Linked DNA regions of Homo sapiens: regions 2, 3, 4, 5, 6 and 7 are each linked to region 1. Evidence: promoter capture Hi-C in 16 types of primary human blood cells and fetal thymus (Javierre and others, 2016). All regions are on one chromosome and are shown on one strand. Each heading gives the region's core, a stretch centred on a gene start or on the middle of the fragment in contact. The rest is flanking DNA. Distances are from core to core; before and after follow the strand shown. Region 1 holds the start of LINC02902 (long intergenic non-protein coding RNA 2902). Region 2 holds the start of LOC124901628 (a long non-coding RNA gene). Region 3 overlaps TNS3 (tensin 3). Region 4 overlaps TNS3 (tensin 3). Region 5 holds the start of LOC124901629 (a long non-coding RNA gene). Region 6 has its middle 6.8 kb from the start of PKD1L1. Region 7 overlaps PKD1L1 (polycystin 1 like 1, transient receptor potential channel interacting).

Region 1 (3,391 bases), core at 601-3,100:
GTACAAATAAAATGATAAAACTGAACCAGTTCTAAATCAGGTTAAATTGAACAAGAATATCAGGCATAGTCCATGGAAAACAACCCATACTTCTCTCTGATTCCATAATTTATTTTTTATTTCCAACTTCATGCCTCTCAGTCACGCCGGCCATCTCTATCATGTGCCTTGGACCCTCTGGCCTTGGGGCCCGAATGATGGCTTCAGCCCCTCTGGCCAGCAAGTCTGTCTGCTGCCTCTACTGGACACATGTACTGCCTAAAGCTGGGGACTTTCTTATCTGGTCCAGACCCCCAGTTCCTCTAACACACTCATTCCACAAATAGAGCCTCAGGCTCCTCCAGGCCCATGGCTACAGAGCCTTTCCTCTCCTAGAGTTTCTCTCCTTTTAGACTCACAAACTCTCTGCTTACCTGCAAGGTGACAGCCTCACTTGAGGAGGAGGAGCTGAGGTTCACTAGGTGGGAGCTGGCCCAAGTCAGTTTAGCTCAGAGGTCGGAGTCTTTGTAAGATGCAGAATGAAAATGAAGTGTTACGACCTCAACCTCCCTCTCCCATCACCCGCTGGGCAAATGCCAATGTCACATCCTTTAAACTGACTTCCTGCCTCCTAGGTCTCTGCCCTGCCTGGTTTAGATCGAAGTGATTAACCTTCTCCCGGGAGCTCGGGGAGGGAAGTCTGGCTGAGCCCTCTTGCCCTTCAGTTCTGCTGTCCTCCTCTACCCAGGTGGGTATTTGACAAGTTTGTGGATTTCAAGCAAAATGTATCTAAAATACATTGTCTTACAGTATGAACTAGAGGAAACAGTGTTTGAATGTTATCTGTTTCTTTTGGAACCAAATCATTGGGTTGGATGATTTATTAAGAAGTGAATCATCCGGGCCGGTGGCTCACGCATGTAATCCCAGCACTTTGGTAGGCCGAGGTGGGCTGACCACTTGAAGTTACAGGTTCGAGACCAGGCTGGCCAACACAGTGAAACCCTTTCTCTACTAAAAATACCAAAAACTTAGCTGGGTGTCCTGGCACACACCTGTAATCCCAGCTACTCAGGAGGCTGAGACACAAGAATTGCTTGAACCTGGGAGGTGGAGGTTGCAATGAGCCGAGATCACACCACTGTACTCCAGCCTGGGCAACAGAGCGAGACTCCTTTGTCTTGAAAAAAAAAAAAAAAATTAAAGTGTCCCAATCTGGGGGGAGGAACAGGGTCACTGCTATGAGAAAGCTAGAGATGGCCTAGGGTCCTTTCTAAAATTTCCTCTGATATTCCTCACACTTTCAAATGATTTCTCCTTTCTTCCCACTCCAGCCACAGACTGCTAGGAAGTACAGTATTTTTTCTTTTGGAAGAAAAAGTAAATGGGAAGGCACAGGATTTTTATTAATGCTGTTACTGATTTTAAAATAAGCTAAGAATGTGCCGTCAATCCAGTTGGCTGCTCCCTGCCGCCCACGGAGCCTGTAATCACTGCCTTACAGCTCACGAGAACAATGGCAACACAAGCAAACCACATCTGCATTTCCACATTCTGAGCAGCAGGTCCCTGAAATAGAGGCAGGGTACGGGAAATTATAGGACTTCAGTGAAACTGTAGGATTGCTGGGATTCCCACAGGCGCCCAGCCCTGGCTCGGGGAATATTTGAGTGTGGGAACTACCCTAGCATCTCTGCACTTACAGGAGAACCAGGGGATTCACCCGTCATGAGAGCAGAGCTCCTATACCCTGGCATCCTGCGCCCCAGGCACCCGAGGGATCCTGGGAAAACCCAAAGCTATGTGGCTAAAACTCCTGCTTTGGGGCTCAGGGTTCAGGGGGTACGCTAGACTCCTCTCCCCATTCGATTCTTGCATTTGGCAGACGAGTCACCCGGGCAGTGGGATGAGGATGGCACCAACAGAGTCAACAGAAGGAAGACGGCTCTGGCCGGGCCCCAGGGAGGGAGGCAGCGGTCAGGACAGTGGTCTTTGTGGGGCCTGGGAGGTGTGGATGCTGGGAGGGATGTGGGGGTGGTCCTGGATGACTGTTGTTCTTTCTGGACCTGGGAAGTGGTTACATGGGCGTGTCCACTTCATGATAATTTGATTTTTTGTCTTTTTTTAAAATGTTTGCTATCCATCAAAATTTGAAAAAGCTCCCAGGGCTTTGGTAACTCCCTGTGGGGCAGAGAGAGTCCACAGAATGTCAAGGCTGGATTTTCTGCCAGGCTGGAAGGAGGAGGGCTCAGGGTTGTATTTGATTTGTTTAGGAGATGGAAAGAAACTGGCCATGTCTTACACAAGGGAAAATAGTTGTTTTCCCAACATCTGGGGTCTCGAAGGCACTCGAGAAGTGATTACTTTGGGGGGTTTCTGCTTCTCCTGGCAGGCTGAGCTGTTCTGGCTGGGAGGCCTCACTTGTCTCCCCGTCCACACTGCTGGCCCGTGGGGTCTCGCGATGGCTGATGCTGATGTATGGGAAAGCCACGCACCCCAAGAGACTCCATCCTCCCAGTAAGCACTCCATGGAGGAAAGAGAGAGGTGGTAATCAATAAACTTGAGTCATTATTGATATTAGTTGTATTGAACATTTACCACGTGGCAAGCAGGGGTGCCGGGGAAAAAACGACTAAAACCTGGGAGGAAGTTTTTTTTTTTCTTTTGAGACGGAGTCTCGCTCTGTAGCCCAGGCTGGAGTGCAGCGGCGCGATCTCGGCTCACTGCAACCTCCGCCTCCCGGGTTCACACCATTCTCCTGCCTCAGCCTCCCGAGTAGCTGGGACTACAGGTGCCCACCACCACGCCCGGCTAATTTTTTGTATTTTTAGTAGAGATGGGGTTTCATCGTGTTAGCCAGGATGGTCTCGATCTCCTGACCTCATGATCCGCCCGCCTCGGCCTCCCAAAGTGCCGGGATTACAGGCGTGAGCCACCGCGTCCGGCCAAGGAAGGTATTTTTATTGGCCACAATTAACAGATGAAAAAGGCGAAGATCCAGGTGTGTTTGGAACTTGGGCCAGGTTAGGGGGTTACACAGGCTCAAGAACTGCCTTTCACTTGTTTAGATTCAGTCAAGACCAGAACAAAGAGAAACACGGAGATTTCTGTCCAGGAGTGGGCCTTCAGGGACTGCATAGCTTCTCAGTGCTCGACTTGCGTGATGGGATAAGTGCTCTTAGAGCTCACTCACCCCTTCTGTCATGTGAAGACACAGGGAGATGGCATCATCAATGAACGAGAAAGTGGGCCCTCCCCAGACAGCGAATGTCCTGGCACCTTAATCTTGGACTTTCAGCCACTAGAACTGCAAGAAATAAATTTCTGTTGTGTGCGAGCCATCCAGTCCATGGTACTTTGTTACAGCAGCCTGAAGGTACTAGCAAGCCTTAAGAAAAGTATCAGAAAATG
Region 2 (3,391 bases), core at 378-2,877, 400 kb before region 1:
TATAAATAAAATAAAAATTGAGGGGTTTGGAAAGGCACTTCTCAACAAACAAACCTTACTTGGGCACATTTGGATTATAAAAAATAAACCCCTTCTAAAAACTATAAAAAATAAAAGGGGCAGAATCAATAATTTATCCTGATTTTTCTGCAAAAACTATTTCAGGGACACAAAATCAGATAATTACAACAAGTAAATGCCTGAAGTAAATAAATAGAGTAATTCTAGCTAGTACACAAAAAGGAAAAAAATAGAATGTTGCCATGGTGTGACCCCCTTAAGTTACAATACTAAGAGGTCTTTACTCGTCATAACAGGAATAGTCTGGTGTTCTGGGGAAGGTGTTAATACCAGAAATAGGGGAGCAGGGGAAACACCCCAAGTTTGCTTGGTAGGATCTTGCAGAGGAGGCTCAGGAGCTGAACTGGATAATTCAAACAAGTCATCTGGCTTCTCAAAAGTCCTCATGGGGAAGTGTCAGATCATGCAGGTGTCCACAGTGGACTGGGACCTGGGCAGCACTGAGTTCCCCTTACTGACTGCACCATCCATGAGCTGAGCCTGCCTTCTGGGGAAGGAGGGGCATCTCCAGGAAGGGCAACCGGGCCAGGTCAGAAGGCCTCCTGTGTCTCCGGGGCAGTGTGGTCTTCTTTCAGGAGAGAGTGAGTCATCACTGAAGGAGAACAGAGCGAAGGCTGCACAGTCCAGCAGTACTGGGCCCAGACTCTCAGCCCCTTTCTGGCCCTGCCACGCTAAGATAGGATCATCTCCCTCATGGATGCAGCTGATGTGTGCGTGAGCACACGCTTGCCAGGCAACTGGCCAGCACCGGCTGTCTCTGCAACGCGGAATTTACAAATGCCCTTCCCGTGAGGAAGGAAGAGTAACCCGATTGATTCTCCGCTACCAAGCAAGCCCTCTGCCACTTTACAGTGCAGTAACTGCTTACAATGATTCCCCTTCTCGGGAATCGCTTTTCTAGCTCTTCCTCTACAGTCGGGGAGCTGAGCCCCCAGAAGCCAGCAGTCACACTAGTAGGGCAGGGCAGAGCCCGCTTGACCCCTTCCTTGGGAGGGGGGCCTAGCGCCGGGGCGCGTTTCCTCTTCGCGCTGCCCTGTCCTGGCCCGCCACTGGAGCCGGTAGCCCGCAGGGCAGCGGGGGCGGAGGCGACCCTGGGGGTGGCCTGTGGGCCCCCCTGCGAGATCTCGACGGTTCCTATCTATTCCATTCTCCCTCCCCGTCTCCCTGAGCCCCGCCCCTGGGTCCCTTGCTGGAGCCGCTCACCCCCTCCCCCGCAGGCGTTGTGCTGGGCCCGGGGCAACTTCCCCAGAACGTCCGGCCACCCTGCGCGGAAGCACGCCTGGCAGAGCTGCTGAGCCAGGCTCAGGTCGCGGAGTAGCGGCGCTCCGGACCGGCGGAACACGGCGTCCTCGGCTCAGCTTCGGAAGCGCCCCCGCCCCGCCCGGCGAGCCCGGGAATGGCGCGCGCGCCCCCTGCCGGCCACACCGGGACCAGCGGCACCCACAGAGGGCGCGCGGGCAGGGCGCGAGGCGGCAGGCCCCTCTCTTCCTCCCGACCCTCGCAGGCTGAGCACATCAAAAGGCAGGCTTCCTTATGGGTGCTTTCGTTGAAATTCAGCATTGTGGCCAGTCTTGAAAGTACAAAAAAAAAAGAGGGCAAATGTGCTGCACCACTTTAACACAACTTCAGTGACCCTGTTGTCTTCTTCTCTCAGATCTTCCTTCTGCTGCTGTATCTGCATTTCCTCATAACGCCAACAATAATGAGAGCATGGCCCGGGAACCCGCAAACTTTTTTCTGGAAAAGGCCAGATAGTAAATGTTCCTGGTTTTGTGAGCAAGATGGAAAATCGCCCATAGACAATATGCTGAGCCGACTGAGCCTGTGCCAGTCCCTGGGAGCCGACGCTAACTGGAAACAGCCAGGCCAGTTGTGCAAACTGCCCACTTGTTCATTAAATCGAGGCAGGTGTGACTTCAAGGCTACCACTCTCTGGTCCTTGTCAGGTGCAGGCTCTGTTAGAGGTTCCTGCCACATCCCTGCCTGGGCCACAGGGCCGTCCCTGGGTCCCCAGGTGTCTCTCCAACCATAACCCTGCCTGGGCCCTGCTATGTCATTTGAGCCATGAGGCCCCTGAAGATCAGTGGCCCCTGCTGCCCTGGGCCCACAACCTGTCACTAGCCTGTTGGGGTTTAAGGGTGAAAAGAAAGACCTCAGACACACATATGTGCACATGCATGCACAAACACACGCATGCACGCACACACACGAACATGCACCAACATGCGGACCCACTAACCCGGAACCACTGGGTTTCTGTGGCAGTGAGAGTAGGAGAAAGGCCTAGGATGCAGCTTGTAGTGAACTCTTATAATTCCATGTTACCATTCCCAACAGAGGTTTAACTTTTTCCTACCAGAGGCAGGGCTTACTCACCCTTAACACAGTTTCCAGCTCTCCACCTCCTTCCAGTTCCTCAATGTGATCAATCCAGACATCTGCCTTATACAAACACCTCCTGGTGACCACTGCCCTACGAGACAGCTGGATACAACCTACTTGACTCACCCCACTGACCCCACATGGACCTCACAGATATGCTGCAATGACCACCTCTCAGTCATGGCGTGATTACATGGAACCGGTGCCTGCTTGCTCTAAACCCATCAATTAGAACTCCCTATGGGAAACCTGCCTGGGGTAGACCCCTGGACCCCACTTAAGGCCTCAGCTTACAGGTCCTCCTCTCTCTCGATCCCCACCCAGTGGTTGTGTGTGTGTGTGCCCCAGGCAGCTCCCTCCATTCCGCTAGCCATGTGAGGTATTCTGCCTTCTTCTCTCTGGGATCTGTGAGGAATATGCTGCTTCTGTGACTCTATGTGCTTTGTCCAGTTGCCTCCTCTGTCTCCCCGGACAGATGCACCAGAACCTAGCTCCTCTCCTAGTCAGGGCTGGCCTAAAGAGTGGCTATCTTATTGGGAATAGCTGGAAACAGGTCAGATGGGAGCCACAAGGAGTCTGCCAGTATGAACAAGATTCCTGTGAGAGCAACACCAGACCATGGGTCTCACCCTCAGGCATGAGGCCACCTGCCAGGATAAAGAAGAATCTTGTGAAAGGCGTGCTGTACACATCCACCACCAAATCCCCGAGGCCCATTAGGTGGGGCACAGTTTATAGGAACTCTGCAGAAAGAGACCACAAGACCAAATCAGAAAGAATCACAACAGCCTCAGCCACATGGTTCCCTCCATGAGCAGAGGCACCCACAGCACCGAGGAGAGGGGAGGGGAGCTGAAGAAAGGGGAGGGGAGAGTAGGAGAGGATGTCTTCAAGCCACCCTGTTTTCAGCCCCACAGGCCCCGTGATA
Region 3 (3,391 bases), core at 579-3,078, 370 kb before region 1:
ACGACCCCCATAGAGACCTCCTTCCAGGCTCACCTGACAGCCCTTAGTCACTGACATGACCACCTGGGGCATTCTCCTCCGGCTCACCTGCCCAGCCCTTCCTTCCAAGAGTGCTATCCACCCAGTCCACATGGTCCCCAGAGGATGCCCAACTCAACACTCTGCTGTGTCCAGGCTGGGCCAGTCTAGCTGGCTTTGGGGTCACCCCTCTCCTTCTGGGAATGACTCTGCACCGGCACAGAGTAAAGCTCATCTGGAGATGAAGAGAGAGGCCAGGAGATAGGCTAGGGCAGAGGCAGAGCCTGGGTGTGCTTCAATTCAAGGTGACCCTGCAGCCACCTGCAGCCCCTCTCAAACAGGTGCCTTTTAAGGCTGATTGTTGGTGAGAAGATCCCCCTTTTGTCTAGAATTAGCCAGTCTGAACTCAAACGCTATCTCTTACAGTATGAAAGATCTGAACTGATGTGGACATGACCCATCTCCAGGGAATATAAAGAATACAGGGAAACTAAAGAGACACAGAAAAAAGACAACTCTGACAAGGGCACATAGAACAGATCCTGTGAAGAAATAACATATCTTCCAAGGGCAGCAGGGAGGAGGGAACAGTCAACATTGTGAGGGTCCTTAAGGAGCCCAACCCTGACCCTGAGTCTACCATGTCGCCAAGCTATGCCTCCAGACCCTGAGTCCACCATGCAGCCTAGCCATGCCCCTGACCCTGACCCTGACCCTGAGTCCACTAGGCAGTCTAGCCATACTCCTGACTGTAAGCCTGAGTCCACCAAGCAGCCTGGCCATGCCCTGAGCCTGACCCTGAGCCCACCAGGTAGATGATCCATATCCCAAACCCTAAGTCCACCATGTAGCTCCGCTATGCCCCTGACACTGACTCTGAGTCCACCGTGCAGCTGAGCCACACCCAACGGGAACCCTGAGTGAGCCATGTAGCCGAGCCATGCCCCTGACCCTGTGTCCACCATGTAACTGAGCTATGCCTGACACTGACCCTGAGTCCACCATGCAGCTGAGCCATACCCAACTGGGACCCTGGGTGAGCCATGCAGCTGAGCCATGCCCCTGACCCTGAGTCTACCATGCAGATGAGCCATGCCCCGACCCTGAGTCTACCATAAAGCCAAGGCACAACCCTGACTCTGACCCTGAGTCCACCAAACAGCAAAGCTATGCCCCCTGAACCTGACCATGAGTCCACCATACAGCTGAGCTATGTCCCTGACCCTGAGTCCACCGTGAAACTGAGCCTTGCCTGTGACCCTGACCCTGAGAACACAGTGGGGCTGAGCCATGCCCCTGACCCTGAGAACATGGTGGGGTTGAGCCACAACCCTGACCCTGTCCCTGCGTGTGCCACACAGGGCACTTGCTGAGTGCCCTTTTCATTTGAGACACTAAACCTTGAAATAGGTATTTTGGTGCAGGATTGAAATACGAGAGCATCAAGCATTGGGACCCTGCCCAGGGTCATCTACTGGTCAGTGTCAGGGGCACTGAACGGGTCTGACCAGCAAAACCCACGTTCTGCTTTGTGCTCATTTTTTTCAGCAGATGAAGGGTGATGAGCTAAACCTGCCTAAACTCACTTATTCCTGAAGCTACAGAGGGGAAGATCCTGCCTTCAACCTCCCAGGTGGTTTGGGCAGATGAAGAAAATGTCTTGCTTCTAGGGACATGGGCACCACAGAGAGGCATGGGGGCCCTGCTCGGGGAGCATCCTGGGAAAGCAGCCAGGCTGGTCTGAGTGTCCCCTGCCGGCCTGTCTGCTGTGATGGCTGCTGCCATCATGCTGCTGCCACGGTTGATGCCAACGTGCCTCCTCAACCACACAATACAAAATAATTGCATCTGAAATGCTCTGTTCCTAGGCCACAGGCTGCACTCAGGGATGGCATTCTGGAGGGAGGGAGACAGGAACAGCCCTGTGGCTGCTCTGTTCCATGCTTATGCTGGGCATTCAGTAAAGATCCACATGGAGAACATCTGCTCCAGCATAACTGGCTCAGTAACAGCTCAGGCGTAAGTCATTTGAAATTGGCCAACGGAAATAGTACATATCAAGGTCATACGCTCACCTGAAAGGAAATGACCCTCTGTTAAAACAATAGGTTCCAAGATCATTGGACTCTGATCATAGTATCAGAGTGTTTTTAAGGAACTGAGTTAAAAGATTTTTTGCATTTGCAATTATGTGTGTATGTGTGTAATTTTAAAACGCCAAACGTCTTTTTTTATTTTATTTTACTGATTTCTAAGAAAAATAGCCTTGCAAACAAATGCTAAGAGTTCCTATGTGGTTCCCAGGACGTATTTAATGACAGAAAAATACCTAGACAGACCCTGGGTGACTCATGACCTCAAAGACGGCTAATGATTTACCTGGATGACTACTCACACTAGGGAAGAACAAGAGGAACGTGACAGCCCCGCCCCTGCTGGACGGCTCCTGCCTCCCTCTAGGCACTCACTTCCTCTGATTGTCTGTCAGGGTGATGCCCTGGGCTGACACCTTGAAGTGCACAACTGTGGACACAGGTGGAGGCTCCTGGACCAGGGTGATGCTCAGGGCCTTCTGGATCGCCTGGTGGCCGGTGAGGGACTCCATCTCCACAGAGTTCAAGTACCACACATTGCAGGCTGGAAGACACCAAGGGAGACACATGTTAGTTGCAACTATTGGGACAGGTGTGTCCTGTTAACACACAGGCAGTTGCTGATGTGCAGACTGGGTTTATGAACAACTTGCGCATGTGGCCTATGCTGGGTGCATGTAAGGCAGATGGCCTTTGCCCCTAATTCTGAAAACATGAACAGTGAGTGCTCCAAGGATGCACTTACTCCCATGTCAAGGCAGAGAATAAGCGAGTTACTAGAGCAAAGCAGACCCGCCTGGTGTGGCTTTGCCTTCCCACCAGCCAGAGGGAGCTTTCTATTCGCCCTGCAGCAGTATTAAACCCTCGTGTCCCAGGTGGAGCCCAAGGCACCTTCTCTGGTCTCAGGGTGGGTATGGACAACAGTCACATTAATATGAAACCCAACTACTGTTATAGGTAAGGAGCCCAGAGGCCCTTGAGAAACAACCATGAGGGAAGCATGTGTCCTCAAATCCTGGTTGCCAAGAGAAGGAATGGCTTGCAGTGAGCTCAGAGAACAGGCTGGAAAAAGCCAAAAGTGGCCCGGCCTCACCTGTGTCCTGGCTCCCCATGCTGCCAAGGGAGAGCTGTGGGTCTTGTCCCTGACCATCTCCTCTTGGGAGAAGAAAAACAACTGGGCTCCATAACAACCCTTCTTTCCCTTCTAGCCTGTGACCCTGCAGTTCAAGCATAAGTGCACGTGTGACTTTGGGGCATGGGTGAAATTGAGGTGTTCCAAG
Region 4 (3,391 bases), core at 331-2,830, 340 kb before region 1:
ACTGATTTCAGCAAATATGAGAAATGCTCTCAAAAGGATAAATTGTTTCTGTCTTTTTAAAGGAAGCAAGGTTCTTATTCCCCCAGTGAAGCCAGAATTGCTCCAGCCAGGGCTGAAATGGGAATCCTGTCCACCAAAAGCCGGGTGACCCTTTTATGACATTCTCATCACAATTGGAATTATCCCCTTCAAAAGAGACCATGCCACAGTCTTCCTTTTAAGCAATAACACAAAAGGAAGTAGAAAATGTAGATGCAATAGTTCATTACAGTTGGAGCCCTATTTTCTCTTATTCTTTGAAGATGTCCCATTTATATTCAAGGTTTTGATCAGACTGGAAAGAAAACACATTTACCAGTTTAGTTGGTGTTGTGTAGAGAATTCTAATGTTGAAACAGTGAAAACAGCGTTTTTCTTCATAGTGAGTGTTTCCCAAGCAGTTTTTACACTTGGGATGCACTAAGTGAGGCCAGTTCCTCCAGGGACTCACATAGTCCCTTAGCAACCTACAAGGGATGAGAGTTGTAAAAAAATGTGCTTTGGTTTGAGTTCTCAAGAAAACAAATGACTTCCTTCCTTCTAGACTTTAAAGAAAGATGACACTGAAGTGGAGCTACTGAGGCTGCCTAGAGACCACATCAAGCCTGCAGACAGAGCCAACACACAGCTGAGAAGATCAGGGTCTAGGGAGTCACTGGAAATAAATGTGTGAGAGAGACAGAGAGAGAGACCCACCCGCTGAGTGGCCAAGGAGTCCTCATGAAGCCAAATCTGAGGCCACAGCCACCCACAGCTGCTCAGTGAGTTTCGTTATTTTTCTCAAATTGTGATAAGACATACATAACAAAATTTACCATCTTAGCCATTTTTAAGTGTACAGTGCTGTAGCATCAAGTACATTCACTTTTTCGTACACCAACTATCTCCAGAACTTTATAATCTTACAAAACTATAACTCTTTCCCCATTGAAATAATTTCCTATCCTCCACCCAAGTCCCCACCATCCCACTTTCTGTATGTATGAATTCAATGACTCTAGGGACCTCATGTAAGTGGAATCATACAGAATTTGTCTTCTTGTGACTGACTTACTTCACTGAACACAATGTCCCTGAAGTTCTTCCATGTTGTAGTGCGTGTCAGAACGTCCTTCCTTTTTAAGGCTGAGTAATATTCCACTGCATGCATAGATCACATTTTGTTTATCCATTCAGCTGTCCCTGGACACTCGATAGCTTTCACCCTTTGACTTTGCGAACAGTTACATTTTCTCCTCTCTTGTTCCTTTAGCCAGTTTGAGTTGGGACTGGTTACTTGCAACAGGAAACAGACTCAGTGACACAATGTCCTTGCCTCAAAGCTGCTTCCAGTCCAGTGGGAGTGCAAACAGACAGGAATGCACCAGCACAGGGCAGTCAGGCCAGGGTGAGGGTATGCAAAGCAGCACCAGAAAAGAAAAGAGCCATCTGACCCTCCTCAGGGAAGCTTTCCTTATGCTGAGCCAAAACAAAACAAAAACAAAAACCCACAAACAGAGGAAGTATTGCCCTTCACAAGCAGAGAGAGAACCTGCATAAGAGGCTTTGAGAGCCCTGGGCTGATTATCATGATGGAGAATGGAGGTTACCATAATGTATACACCACGTCCACACAGGAGTGGACAGCGGTCAGAGAAAGCTTCAGGCAGCTCAAGATGATACCGGCGAGGGTCTATGCCAATGAAGAGGCTGTACCTAAGATGCTTGGTTCCAAGTCTTTAGTCCGCAGAATAATTCCAGTCTCATAACTGGACTTGTCCACAGGACAGGAAGTCTTGATGTTTTCTGTTTTCAGGCAGAATTCCCAGAGAATCTGGCTTTCCTTTAGAAACGGCACATGGGACACAGATGACATGTGCTGAACTTTGCCACAGCCCTTCTAAGGAAAGGTCACTTTAGCCTGGTGGCTCAACAGCTGAAGTCCCGAGGAGTCCTGGTCCAGGATCATCATTTTGTCCTACAACCACTGTCTGAGTCCATGTGCACCGCTATATAGGAACAACCGAGGCTGGGCAATTTATTTTAAAAAGAGGTTTATTTGGCTCACGGTTCTGAAGGCTGTAGAAAAAGCATCTGCACCTGGTGAGGGCCTCAGGAAGCTTCCATTGATGTGCACTCTGCACACCCTCACCCTGGCCTAACCACCCCATGCCAGTGCATTCCTGTCTACCTCCACTCCCACTGGACTTGTGAAAGGAAGCTGGCATCACATGGTGAGAGGAAGGCGAGAGAGAGAGAGTGAGAGAGTGATAGAGAGAGAGACAGAGAGAGAGAGAGAGAGGAGGGGAGGTGCCAGGCTCTTTTTGACAATCAGTTCTCGTGTGAACTAACAGTGAGAACTCACTCGTTACCATGAGGACAGCACCAAGCCCTTCATGAAGTATCTGCCCCCATGGAGGGGACAAATATCCAAACTGTATCAATGACTGCACCATGGAAGTCTAAATCACATAAGGCCCAGGGGGAGAAACCTCCCCTGTAATCTCAGAAGTCTCTTACCATGACTTGAAAACCTTATTCTATGTGGCAGATTTCAATGGACCTGAATAGAATCAAAGACACCCTTAAAGGACCTGCCTGTCTAAGAACCCCTGTGGCACTCGGGGCATCTGCATCCCTTATGCCCACCAGCCCATGTGCCAGGGACCACAGGCAGCTAATGGGGGTTTCTCATGTAGTTTCAGAAACTGGAAGACTGCTGCTTTTGAGAGAATATCACTGGTCAGACTCTAACCAGGTCCCTAACCAGGCGTTGCCATCTTCACCCAGTATTTCTAAAGCGTCCTGTGAGCAATGAGGAATGCAACACTGGGAATCCTGTGTTAGGTAAGAATTCGAAACCTCAGCTTCACTTAAACCCTTCACTCAGTTAACAAAAAGATGTACTCTCATTGCAGTAAATATAAACAGAGACTCAGAATGCATTTTATCTTTGTTCAGAAAACATAAGTTATCTTTATAAATTATCACTATTTTACTAATAGTGACTATCTGCGCGGTGCTCAGTGGGCTTACTTGACCCTCAGAACAACTCTTAAAGGTGTGCACTCTCGTCCATCTATACCTGTGAGGAGGCCGAGGCTTCAGCACTTCCCCTCACCTGCACCTGGAGGGAAACACACGCACCACCCAGCTGGAGCAGGACTCAAACATGATTCTTGGGTTTCCCACCTCTAGCTCATTAGCACGAACCTCATTCCTTTTCCTTTTCACTCTGTCCACAGCTCTGTGAGTTAAGAGGAATCCTGGTATTCCACGAGTTGGGAGTATTAGTCAGCTTGGGCTGCTATAAAAAATACCACACAGTGACTGAACCAACAGAAATGTATCCCCTCCCAGTCTAGCAGCTGGA
Region 5 (3,391 bases), core at 498-2,997, 290 kb before region 1:
GCCAAAGGTGGGAACAACCCAAGTCTCCATCGAGAGAGGAATGAATAAACAAACTGTGCTCTATCCCAGCTGTGGAATATTACTCTGCCAGGAGCAGTACTGAAGTTCCCACATGGGCTGTAACACGTCCGGCTCGAAAACATCACACACCACGTCACAGGAGCCAGCCACAAAAAGCACATACTTTGTGATGCCATTTATGTAAAATGTCCACAGTAGGCACATCCCCAGGGACAGGAGGGGATGAGTGAGTGCCAGGGGTTTGGCAGGGAGGTGTGGACAGGAAGTGACTTCAGGGGGTATAAGGTTTCCCTTTGGGATGACGACAAATTTCTGAAACTAGATAGTCATGATGGTTGCACAGCAATGCAAATGTCCTTACTACCACTGAACAGTACACTTAAAAATGATTAAAATGCTAAATTTTATGTTACATGTATTTCACCACAATAAAAAATTAATGAGTATTTTTTAAACCTGAGGGATGATTTCTGTTTTCTACTGTGGGCCGGACCAAAGATTTTCATCTCAAAATTCATATGACTTTATTGTGAATTACTTTCTTTTTATTTTTCCTTTGACATGAGTGTTAGGGTGTTAAATTTAGTTTTCAGTATGTGCTTAAGGAGGTTATATTCGCTATGACTTTCATCTCAGAAGAGTAAAGATGGCGCTAGAAGGTATCTGTTATAGAAACGATACTTCATTTTGGGCCTGAACCAGTGAAGGTCCCTTGATGTAGCTATCACGGGCAGTGTGGACTGAGCAGAAGGTGGGCTGGAATCCACACCTCAAAGTCCCAGAAGGCCCAGATAGCACCTTCTCCTCTGTGGCCCTAGCCTCTCAGCAGTGTCTTCAGAGCGCCCACCAAGGTGGTAGGGTGGGAAACCAAGGCCCCCTGCTTTGCAGAGTGAGAGTATCTGGGGCAAATGGAAAGCTTCATCAACTCTAAAATTTCAAAGTTGGTTTTATGCAATAAAAAGAAAGTAATTGCAATGGCAGTTTCCCCAAGCAGACTGGAGTTTCTCATTCTAAAACGTTTTCCGAATTGGACACCCACAGAGCTCCCTGCAGTGCAGTGGGCTGACTCGGTTATTAAATGTGCACTCACATACACATGACCTGTTCATACCCACGGCCCTAAAGCATCGGGGTCTGAAGGTGGAGAGGAGCTGTGTCTAGTCCTGACCCCTGGGCAGGAGTCTCTTTTCAGAGTTCTCAAGGCACATAAATATCCCATCTCTCTCAGAAACCTCCAGAGACTGAAGCTCACAGATGGAGAAAAAGCCTTGTTTTGCCAGTGGTAGCAAACAAAGAGCAAGAGTCCCTCACGGACGCATGTCCAGCGCCCGGGGCCCTGGCTCCTTGGCTCCCAGACCTCCTCTATCCTGGTTCTCTGATGTGAGTACCAGGAAGTCCCTTTATAAGACCTGGGTCCTAGGACCTCACTCAGCTCCCTGGAGGGGGTGGTGGCCAAGGGAAGCATCTCAGAATAAAGGTGACCCTGGGCTGACTGAGACCATCCAGAGACAGCCCCCAAAAGGCAGAGGTGCTGCCATCAGCCCTGGTCTCTTGCTGACGCCTGAGTCCTTGGAGGGCTCCAGGAGTGTCTATGCCTGGTGCTGCGGTCACTCCTCCATCCTCCACCTCAGATGCGCACGCTGCTGTCTTCCCCCATGCTCTGAGGGCCCGGCACTGGCAGGATGATGCCCATAACTGGGCACTGCTCAGTTATAACACACAGTACGGAAATAACGACACCTGGACTTTTAGAAAGTACCATGGATCCCCTGTGTCCCTAGCACGGATCTGAAACCCCCATACCCAGATCACTAATAGCCAAATTCAAGGCCCCTTCATTCTTCCAATGTCCAGCTGCTACGGGCGCAGGCGCTGGGGCCCACTTGCTTACTTCCCTCCCTCCCTCCTGAGATTCTTCCTCTGCAGAGTTGGAGGCCAATGCCACCCCATGGAACCCCCATCCTGCCTAAATGCTATCCTCCATTGTCTCTGGGACCCTAATAGAGCTCCCAGGCTCAGTGCACCTTCTCAGTGCCTTCTCTTCTGGTAAGACAGTAACCATGCCAAAAAAAAAAAAAAAAAACAAGCAAGGGCCCAGCCCAAGACCCCAAGGCTCGCCTCTGCCCTCAGGGAAGAGCCACACTCCTTGGCCCCCATCCTGGCCCTCCATGGTGGGGCCTATCTGCATCTCCAGCCTCACTCCCCAGCACTGAACTTCCCTGGCACACTATGCTTTCTCCCGGTCTGCCTCTCCTCCAGACCATCTGCCTGGTAAGGATCCCTCTGCCTCACAAGGCCTGGCTGAGAGGCTCTGGCTGAGCACCCCCAGCACGTTCCCCAACTCTGGAGTTGAAATGAGGTGGGACTGTCTGCCTGTCTCCACTTTGTGAGGCTGTGAGCCTTCTGCCACGGAATCAGAGCTTGCAGATAAGCTGCTTTCTGAATCCTAAAGCGCTCTTCCAGCTTTCACATTTGGTTCCTTTGGTTGGGGTTTAGCACACAATTTAAATCAACGGGCTCTCCATGGTCAATTATTAAAAGCTTACAGTTTCCATTGCTCTGAACTTTCTTTAGGATGCACAGGTTATCAGCCATGGGTTAGCACTAACAGAGCAGATGCCGAGTCTGGGAGGGACATTAAATGCCTGGTGGGAATGCCACAGCACTATCTGCAAGCAGAACAGGGCCTGCCAGGTTGCTGTCATCACAGGGTGGAGGTTGATGTAACATGAATAAAATATTTTGACAACATGAAGCAAAGAGCCCTCAAGGTATGAAAAAAAACCACAGAACTGGCTTTTTGCCACCCACGGAATCATGAATTTCACAGGTTGAGTCATTTCTTTTGTTACTGGGATATCATCAGTTGAAATATTCTCCCACTTAAAAGGGTATGATACAAAAAACCCACCACGTGCAGGCTGAAACCAGGCTGAGACCCAGAGTGGGGCGGGGACAATGAGCCTGGCAGCAGCACCCAGGGGCTCTTCCACAAAACACCAGTGGCAGCAGAAGTCAGACCAGAGTGAGGGAGCAGGGCCTCATGGCTGGCAGGCACTTGTGGGGAGTAAAATGTCCCCAAACCAACTCCCTGAATCTCACCCATTCTACAAGAAGGATACAAAACTGTGCTCACTGGCACACAGAGCACCCAGGTCTCAGCCACCAGAGCTTTGTGATACCCCACCTCTGGAGGGCCTCTCTCTGATCTTGTAGGTGGGCAGGGCTACTCTACACTGTCCAGCGATAAATCTCCCCTCAGTGCCCATTCAGCAGAGTAGTTCAGGTCTCAAAAGGATCATTTGCAGTTCCGCCTGTCCCAGACCCCTGTATTTGCAAACATATGTCGAACTCTTCCTGCATGCCAGGG
Region 6 (3,391 bases), core at 319-2,818, 300 kb after region 1:
GTGTGAAGGGAGGCCCACCTGTCATTTGGGACAGGTTAAGCCACCAAACATCTAAGAATCACACTGGGCATTTCTTTCTAGATTTAAGACTGCATGCTCCAAAAACTGGTAAAGCCCCAGGTAGGAGCTGCTGTGGGAAGGCCAAATTTGAACTAGGTGAAGTGTTAATGAGGAAGTCCAGCATCCCATCAAGCACTTCCCTCACGAGGGCCCCTTATGTGCTCTGCCTCCTTGGCAGGGTTTATTTGCAAACAGTGAAAGAAGTGAACAGAGAAAAGACAAAAACACAAGGTAGATGCCCTCCACTCTGTTCTGGTTCTCACTTCTGTCTGGTCATGTTTTTCTTCCCCTGTAAGGGGAGGATCCTCCCCCAGAAGGCTTCACTAGAATTTTCTCTCAGCAAGGAAGATAACCAAAAAGATAATTTTAAATTGAAACTAGTATGGTAAAAAGTGGTTAGTGTATATATGTAGCCTCCTTTAAATTTTTAAATAGCTTGAGGTTAGAAACACAGGGCTGTCTGGTCACAAGGTTTGAGCCCTAAGGTCACTGGATGATGTCATGGTGCGCTAAGACACGCCAACCAAACCTCTATGAGCCTCGGAAGAGCCATGGAAGTCACCCAGTCTGCACTGTGTGCTGCCGTGAACTGGCAGCCTCTGGTTAGCAGCGTATTTTCACTGAGAAAAAAGCCAATTTTTGCTTGTTTTGTTTGGTAAGGCTTATGTTATGGTTTAAGTGTGTCCCCTAAATTCATAAGTTAGAAGCTTGGTCCTCTGCAGTGGTGTTGGGAGGCAGAGCCTGATGAGAAGTGATGAAGTCACAAGGACTCTGCTCTCATGATGGCTTAATGCTGTTACCAGGAGAATGAGTTGTTATCAAAGATGGTCTGCCCCTCTTGCCTCCTTTCTGTCTCCTGCACCCACTTCTGCCTTGTGCCCTTCTGCCAGGGGACAATACAGCAAGGAGGCCTTCACCAGATGCATCCCCTTACCTTACTTTGGACACCCCAGCCCCTAAAACTGTAATTACTCTTTTCTTTATAAATGACTCAGTCTGTGGGAATCAGCTATAGCCACACAACACAGACTAAGACCGCTTATAAATGCTCACATTTTACGCTTCCCAATTTAGAAACCTGCCAATGAGTAATGCTATTTTCTCTTATTCCAACCACCACAGGTGGTCAGCATGTTTAGTCACTGTTAGAGAAACTGTCTCAAGAGGCTGAATGACTTGCCCCAGACTAGGACGCTGGAAAGAGCCAAAATCCATTCCCAGATCTTAGGGTGTGGAATTCAGCATCTTTCCAAGCTACATATGCTGGTTATGGTTGTAAGATTGGTTCATTTGGTGCTACAGGCGAATAGGAACTAGATTCCAGGAAGGCGGCTACATTTTCTCGTGCTACCCACAGGGTCATCTTCCTTACTGTCCAGTGATTTGTGAAGTCCTGTGCGTGGCTGGTCTCTCCCAGGATCTTTTAGCCTACAACTTAATAACTGGTCACTCTGCCCTCACTGCAAAGACTGTTACAGACACTGATTGATCCTCATCCATGTTGGGCCCATGGTAAAAAGAGATGATTCTGCAATGTGGTGCCACCTTATTGATCGAGACTCCAGTATTCTAAACCTGGCATAACATCAAAATGACAAATAAAAAGTTTAATTTTCTATTTATGAAAATAAGGATGTGCTGTGAAAAGAGTCTGAAGTCCAATGTTCGGGAAACTGTAATTGCCGAGTGAATGTGTAAGGCACTCAAGTAACAAATATTTATTATTTAGTCCCTTAAAAATAATTTACTTTATTACAAAGATAGTAATACAATTTCTAGAAAATACATGCATGTACAAAGATTGAAATAAAAAAAACACTCATAAATATCCAGATTTAAATGTCAGCATATACCTTCCTGATCTTTTTCTATCATACTGTATCTATCAACATCTAACCTGCTTTTTTAACTATAAGTCATACATTTTGCCATATCAGTACACTTTTTTCTGTAACATTATTTTTAGAGCATATCAAACCATAGTTTATTTAACCAATCCCCAATTAATTCATAATTAGAATATTTCGTGTTTTTCCAGTATAACAGTTCTATAATCTTTGATTATAACCTTTGTGTAAATTCCTATAAGTATTGAGTCAAAGGAGACACACATCTTTTCAGGCATTACATATAAAATAAATACTAAACTAGACTCCAGGAAAGTGGTATCAATTCACATTCCCAATAGCACTGTCCCAATGGGGCTAATTTATCTCCTTTTTAATCTCAGCGTATTTCCAGTTATAACATACCATTTTTACCTCTTGATTCAACAATTGTACTTAGAAGAAGCTCTAAAAATCCAAAACTGAAGCTTCCTTTTAGACCCTCCCTATTACAATCCGTATGAAAGTACAGAATTCGAGAGTGACATCAGCCAAACGGAGAAGTGAAGCTTACTGGCTTCTCTCCCTACCACATAATTTCAACTAGCAAATACCCAGTGGCAAGATTATTGCCCTGAATATCCCAGAAATTGGGAGTGAAGCTGTGACAACTCACTGGACCACAGAGCCAAGAAAAACCATGAACAGAGGGTAAAGAGAATGGTTCTGTTTGATCATAACACCTCTCCCGCAAGCCCACATAGCACCGCACTTGGAGAATTTCTCTGGAATCAGTTTCTACAGTGGGAAAAGAGAGCGGGAGGTGGGCATTCACCTTCCGCACCATTCTGAGACTCTTCACAGGGGCACACTATGGTCCTTTCCCCCTGGAAGCACTGCAGGTGCCAGCAGGGTTAGCCTGCTAGGTGTAAATTAGAAACAAAGAATGGGGGTGGGGCTCACAGCAGTCAACAAACAAATCACAGAGTGGACTGCAGGGAACCTGGGCTTAGGGCACCATTTGGCACTACACGGGCTGTAGCGTTCACGGGCTTAAAGACCAAAAAAGACAGTATGCTTACAATTTCTGGACAGACCTACTATACAAGGACAATCACAGACAAAGCCAGATTGCAAAGACTGTTTATAAATACCTACATATTCAATGCACAGATATCAATGTATAACTACAAAGATGAAGAACAGTCAGGGAAACATGATGTCACCAAACAGACAAAGTGCCAGTGACTGACTCTAAAGAGGCAGAGATATATGACATTCCTGAGATAATTCAAAATAGCTGTCTAAAGGTATAAAACTCCCTGGTAAAAATAACTCAGGAACTGATAACCAAATGATGATGATGATGATGATCAACCCAGAGGACTGGTTGAATTCGTTGCTCAAACCAGAGAAAAACACTGTCCTACTAAATGATACTATTTTAAATAAATTGATTGGTCATTACTGTCAAGCAATTGAAGTAATTTGTCCAGATACATATA
Region 7 (3,391 bases), core at 355-2,854, 260 kb after region 1:
GCCCAGGCTAGAGTGCAGTGGCATGATCTCAGCTCACTGCAACCTCTCCTCCTGGATTCAAGCGATTCTCCTGCCTCACCCTCCCAAGTAGCTCGGATTACAGGTGTCCGCCACCACGCCCAGCTGATTTTGTGTGTGTGTGTGTGTGTGTGTGTGTGTGTGTGTATTTTTAGTAGAGACAGGATTTCACCATGTTGGCCAAGCTGGTCTCGAACTCCTGACCTCAGGTGATCCACCTCAGCCTCCCAAAGTGCTGGGATTACAGGCATGAACCACTGCACCTAGCCTCAAGTTGACTTTAGACTTAACCCCTGATAAAAGATGTAATACTGATATAGTTCGGATGTTTACCTCTCCCTAATCTAATGTGTCGAATTGTAATACCCAAAGTTGGAGGTAGAGCTTGGCGGGAGGTGACTGGATGATGGGAGTGGATTCCTCATGAATGGTTTAGTACCATCCTTTGGTGGTGTCCTTGCGATAGTGAGTGACTTCTCTTGAAATCTGGCTATTTAAAAGTGTGTGGCATCTCACTCTCTCTCATTTCTGCTTTTACTGTGTGCTGTGCCTGCTGCCCTGTAGCCTTCTACCATGATTGTAAACTTCCTGAAGCCTCCCCAGAAGCTAAGCAAATGTCGGCACCCGTGCTTACTGTAAAACCTGCAGAACCGTGAGCCAATTAAGCTTCTTTTCTTTATAAGTTACCTAGTTTGAAGTATTTCTTTATAGCAATTGGAGAATGGCCTAATACAAATACCAATTCCTTACTTTATTCATAAAACAACAAAAGAAACCAATGAATATGTATCAAAGTTGCAGATGCTTAAAATTATTATAATAGAGCAAGTCCTGATGTGAAATAGAGATATACTTAGCCTTCTACTTAATCTTCTAGGAGTTAATCCAAAAACAAAAAGGAAAACAGTGAATAAAAATAAAAACTTTTTCTCTCTTTGTTTAGTGAAACTAGGAGGTAGCTAGCATGTTCAGAATACAAAATAGACGCAAAAACTGCTAAAAGCGGCAAATATCAAGCATGCATGAGCAGGAACCGTATTGAAGGAAGAAAACAGAAAACGTCCTAAAGTGAGAACTCAGTTGCCAAAGGGCTCAGTGGCTGTGAATATCATCAACACGCATACATGTGTGTACGCAACACACACACACACACTCCACCAGCAGTTAGTTCAGAAAAAAATGCAACTCTTTAAATTATGAGTAATGCTGTGAAGAAAAAAAAAAAAAGAAAGGAAGGAAGAAAGGAAGGAAGGCAGGAAAGAAGAAGGGAGGGAAGGATAAAGGGAGAAAAGGAGGGAGAAAAGACCATTCAGCATGTACAAGATACTATAAGAGTCAAGAGGGAAAATTCAGGAAATACTCATAATAGATTAAGATAATTTATCAGAAAAACACTGTCCACAAGAACAGGACTGAACAACTTGAGGAATCGTTATCTTCTGAGATGGAAGACCAGAGAGCATCTGGTCTTGGAAGGAAACAAAGTCAACATTTTAGAGTATAATGGAGAATGGAAAGTGTAGAACACAAAAGAAGGGATGCAGAGGAAAATATGAGGAAAGCGGATCAGATGAAAAAGGAAAAACAAAAAAGATTTGAAAAGACAAAAGAGAACTAATAGATGTATGCCAGTCTCCCAAAAAGAAAGCTGACATATTGGAATAGAAACAATGTAAAGATCTAATTCAAGAAATCTTTCCTGAAACAAAGGACACATTGAAAAGGTACACCATGTGCTGGAGAAAGGTGACCCAGAGTGGCCAGCACTTAGACACGTGCTGGCAAAGCTGCTGGAGTTGCAAATAAAGAAATAACTACCGGCTGGGCACGGTGGCTCAGACCTGTGATCCTAGCACTTTGGGAGGCTGAGGCGGGTGGATCGCTTGAGGTCAGGAGTTTGAGCCTGGCCTGGCCTTCATGGTGAAATGCCATCTCTACTAAAAATACAAAAATCAGCCAGGCGTGGTGGTGTATGCCTGTAATCCTAGCTACCTGGGAGGCTGAGGCATGAGAATCACTTGAACCCAGGAGATGGAGGTTGCAGTGAGCCGAGATCATGCCACTGTACTCCAGCCTGGGCAACAGAGTGAGACTGTGTCTCAAAAAAAAAAAAAAAAAAAAAAAGAAAAGAAATAATTCTCATGACAATCACAGAAAAACATTAATCAATGACGGGGAAAAAAGAAGGCTGACTTTGGAATCACCACAAGGTAAGAAAGACAGAATGGAGAATTTCAGGGAGGCTTCTTCAGACAGAGTGTCAGGGCCACCAGCTGAATTTCTGATTCAGTAGGTCTGCAGTGGGCCTGAGAGTCTGTATTCTAAGCCAGTCTCAGGTGGTCATGATGCTGCTGGGCCAAACTTGGAGAACCATGGTTACAGGAGAGAACAGAATGGAAAGACAACCAGATTCCCCAGGAAAAGAACATGTGTCCAAGGAGTCCAGAGCCAGCACACTGTCGTTCCAACATAATGGCAGCAACAGTTTTGAATATGGGAACTTAGAGGAAGCTTATTGCATGAATTTTCCTAAAAAAAATCTACTAGAGGACAAACTTCAGACAACCAAACAGGAACACCATGCCAAAAAAAAGCTGAGTGAGGACCGAATATATTAGCTCTAGAACCGGAACTAAGACTAATGTGGGAAAGCAGGTTGATATGATTTGGATCTGTGCCCCCACCAAATCTCATGTCGAATTGCATTCCCCAGTATTGAAGGTTGGGCCTTCAGCACTGGCGGTGAGGAGGTGGGTGGTGATTGGATGATGGTGGCAGATTTCTCATGAATGGTTTAGTGTCACCCCCAATCCCTGCCACTTGGTACTGTCCTCATGATAGTGAGTTCTCATGAGATCTGGTCTTTTAAAAGTGTGTGGCACCTCCCCCCCTCTTGCTCCTACTCCGGCTATGTAACGTGTGTGTTCCCTGTTCGCTTTCTGCCATGATTGTAAGTTTCCTGAGGCTTCCCCGGAAGCTGAGCAGATGCCCACATCAATGTTTCCTATACAGTCTGCAGAACTGTGAGCCAATTAAATCTCTTTTCTTTATAAATTATCCAGTGTCAGGTATTTCTTTATAGCAATGCAAGAACAAACTAATACATAAGTAGCAGAAAAAAAGGTAAACATTTCATGTTCTGACAATGTAGAAATCATACAGTAAACGAAATTTGGGCTGGGGAAGAGAAGAGGTAGGAGCTGTGGAATAATGCAGATTGCCTCATTAGTAATTGCTGGAAATCAAAAGACATGAAGATTTAACAAAGCAATTAAGAAAGGTGAAAGCATATATGAGAAAAAAATGAGTAAAATTGGTGATAAAGAAGAGAGAAGGGAAGAGGAAGATGGGAAATATTCTAATTTCATCATTG

The links. Contacts are between HindIII fragments. The CHiCAGO score rates a contact against its expected background, and 5 or more counts as called.
Region 2: a contact is called between a fragment that was not itself captured here and the fragment with the promoter of LINC02902 in region 1, in 3 of 17 cell types (total B cells, naive B cells and erythroblasts). The highest score is 17.4, in total B cells.
Region 3: a contact is called between a fragment that was not itself captured here and the fragment with the promoter of LINC02902 in region 1, in 2 of 17 cell types (total B cells and naive B cells). The highest score is 10.4, in total B cells.
Region 4: a contact is called between a fragment that was not itself captured here and the fragment with the promoter of LINC02902 in region 1, in 3 of 17 cell types (total B cells, naive B cells and fetal thymus). The highest score is 12.9, in total B cells.
Region 5: a fragment that was not itself captured here is called in contact with the fragment with the promoter of LINC02902 in region 1 in 4 of 17 cell types (total B cells, naive B cells, M0 macrophages and 1 more); the score reaches 10.7 in total B cells.
Region 6: a fragment that was not itself captured here is called in contact with the fragment with the promoter of LINC02902 in region 1 in 1 of 17 cell types (total B cells); the score reaches 6.2 in total B cells.
Region 7: a fragment that was not itself captured here is called in contact with the fragment with the promoter of LINC02902 in region 1 in 3 of 17 cell types (total B cells, naive B cells and M1 macrophages); the score reaches 8.9 in total B cells.

What each region holds. Positions count from the first base shown.
Region 1 is chr7:47,653,394-47,656,784 of GRCh38, forward strand. LINC02902 (long intergenic non-protein coding RNA 2902) reads left to right here and starts at 1,851. Exons shown (of 3, transcript NR_171030.1): 1 at 1,851-1,955. The HindIII fragment of the contact is 4,908 bases long and covers 1-3,391 here.
Region 2 is chr7:47,253,107-47,256,497 of GRCh38, forward strand. It overlaps LOC124901628 (a long non-coding RNA gene), which reads right to left and starts at 1,508. Exons shown (of 2, transcript XR_007060318.1): 1 at 1,285-1,508; 2 at 1-673. RefSeq lists a silencer at 1,390-1,569. The HindIII fragment of the contact is 6,901 bases long and covers 1-3,391 here.
Region 3 is chr7:47,281,211-47,284,601 of GRCh38, forward strand. TNS3 (tensin 3) reads right to left here. Exons shown (of 31, transcript NM_022748.12): 28 at 2,487-2,655. Among named protein-coding and RNA genes, the nearest start is that of SNORD151, 180 kb to the right of the region's middle. The HindIII fragment of the contact is 9,538 bases long and covers 1-3,391 here.
Region 4 is chr7:47,317,114-47,320,504 of GRCh38, forward strand. The region is part of intron 20 of TNS3 (tensin 3); the gene reads right to left. Among named protein-coding and RNA genes, the nearest start is that of SNORD151, 150 kb to the right of the region's middle. The HindIII fragment of the contact is 192 bases long and covers 1,485-1,676 here.
Region 5 is chr7:47,359,121-47,362,511 of GRCh38, forward strand. The region is part of intron 17 of TNS3 (tensin 3); the gene reads right to left. LOC124901629 (a long non-coding RNA gene) reads right to left here and starts at 2,085. Exons shown (of 2, transcript XR_007060319.1): 1 at 1-2,085. The HindIII fragment of the contact is 1,625 bases long and covers 936-2,560 here.
Region 6 is chr7:47,953,577-47,956,967 of GRCh38, forward strand. It overlaps a transcript of PKD1L1 not described here. Among named protein-coding and RNA genes, the nearest start is that of PKD1L1, 6.8 kb to the left of the region's middle. The HindIII fragment of the contact is 1,607 bases long and covers 766-2,372 here.
Region 7 is chr7:47,910,697-47,914,087 of GRCh38, forward strand. All of the region lies in intron 8 of PKD1L1 (polycystin 1 like 1, transient receptor potential channel interacting), which reads right to left. Among named protein-coding and RNA genes, the nearest start is that of PKD1L1, 36 kb to the right of the region's middle. The HindIII fragment of the contact is 1,845 bases long and covers 683-2,527 here.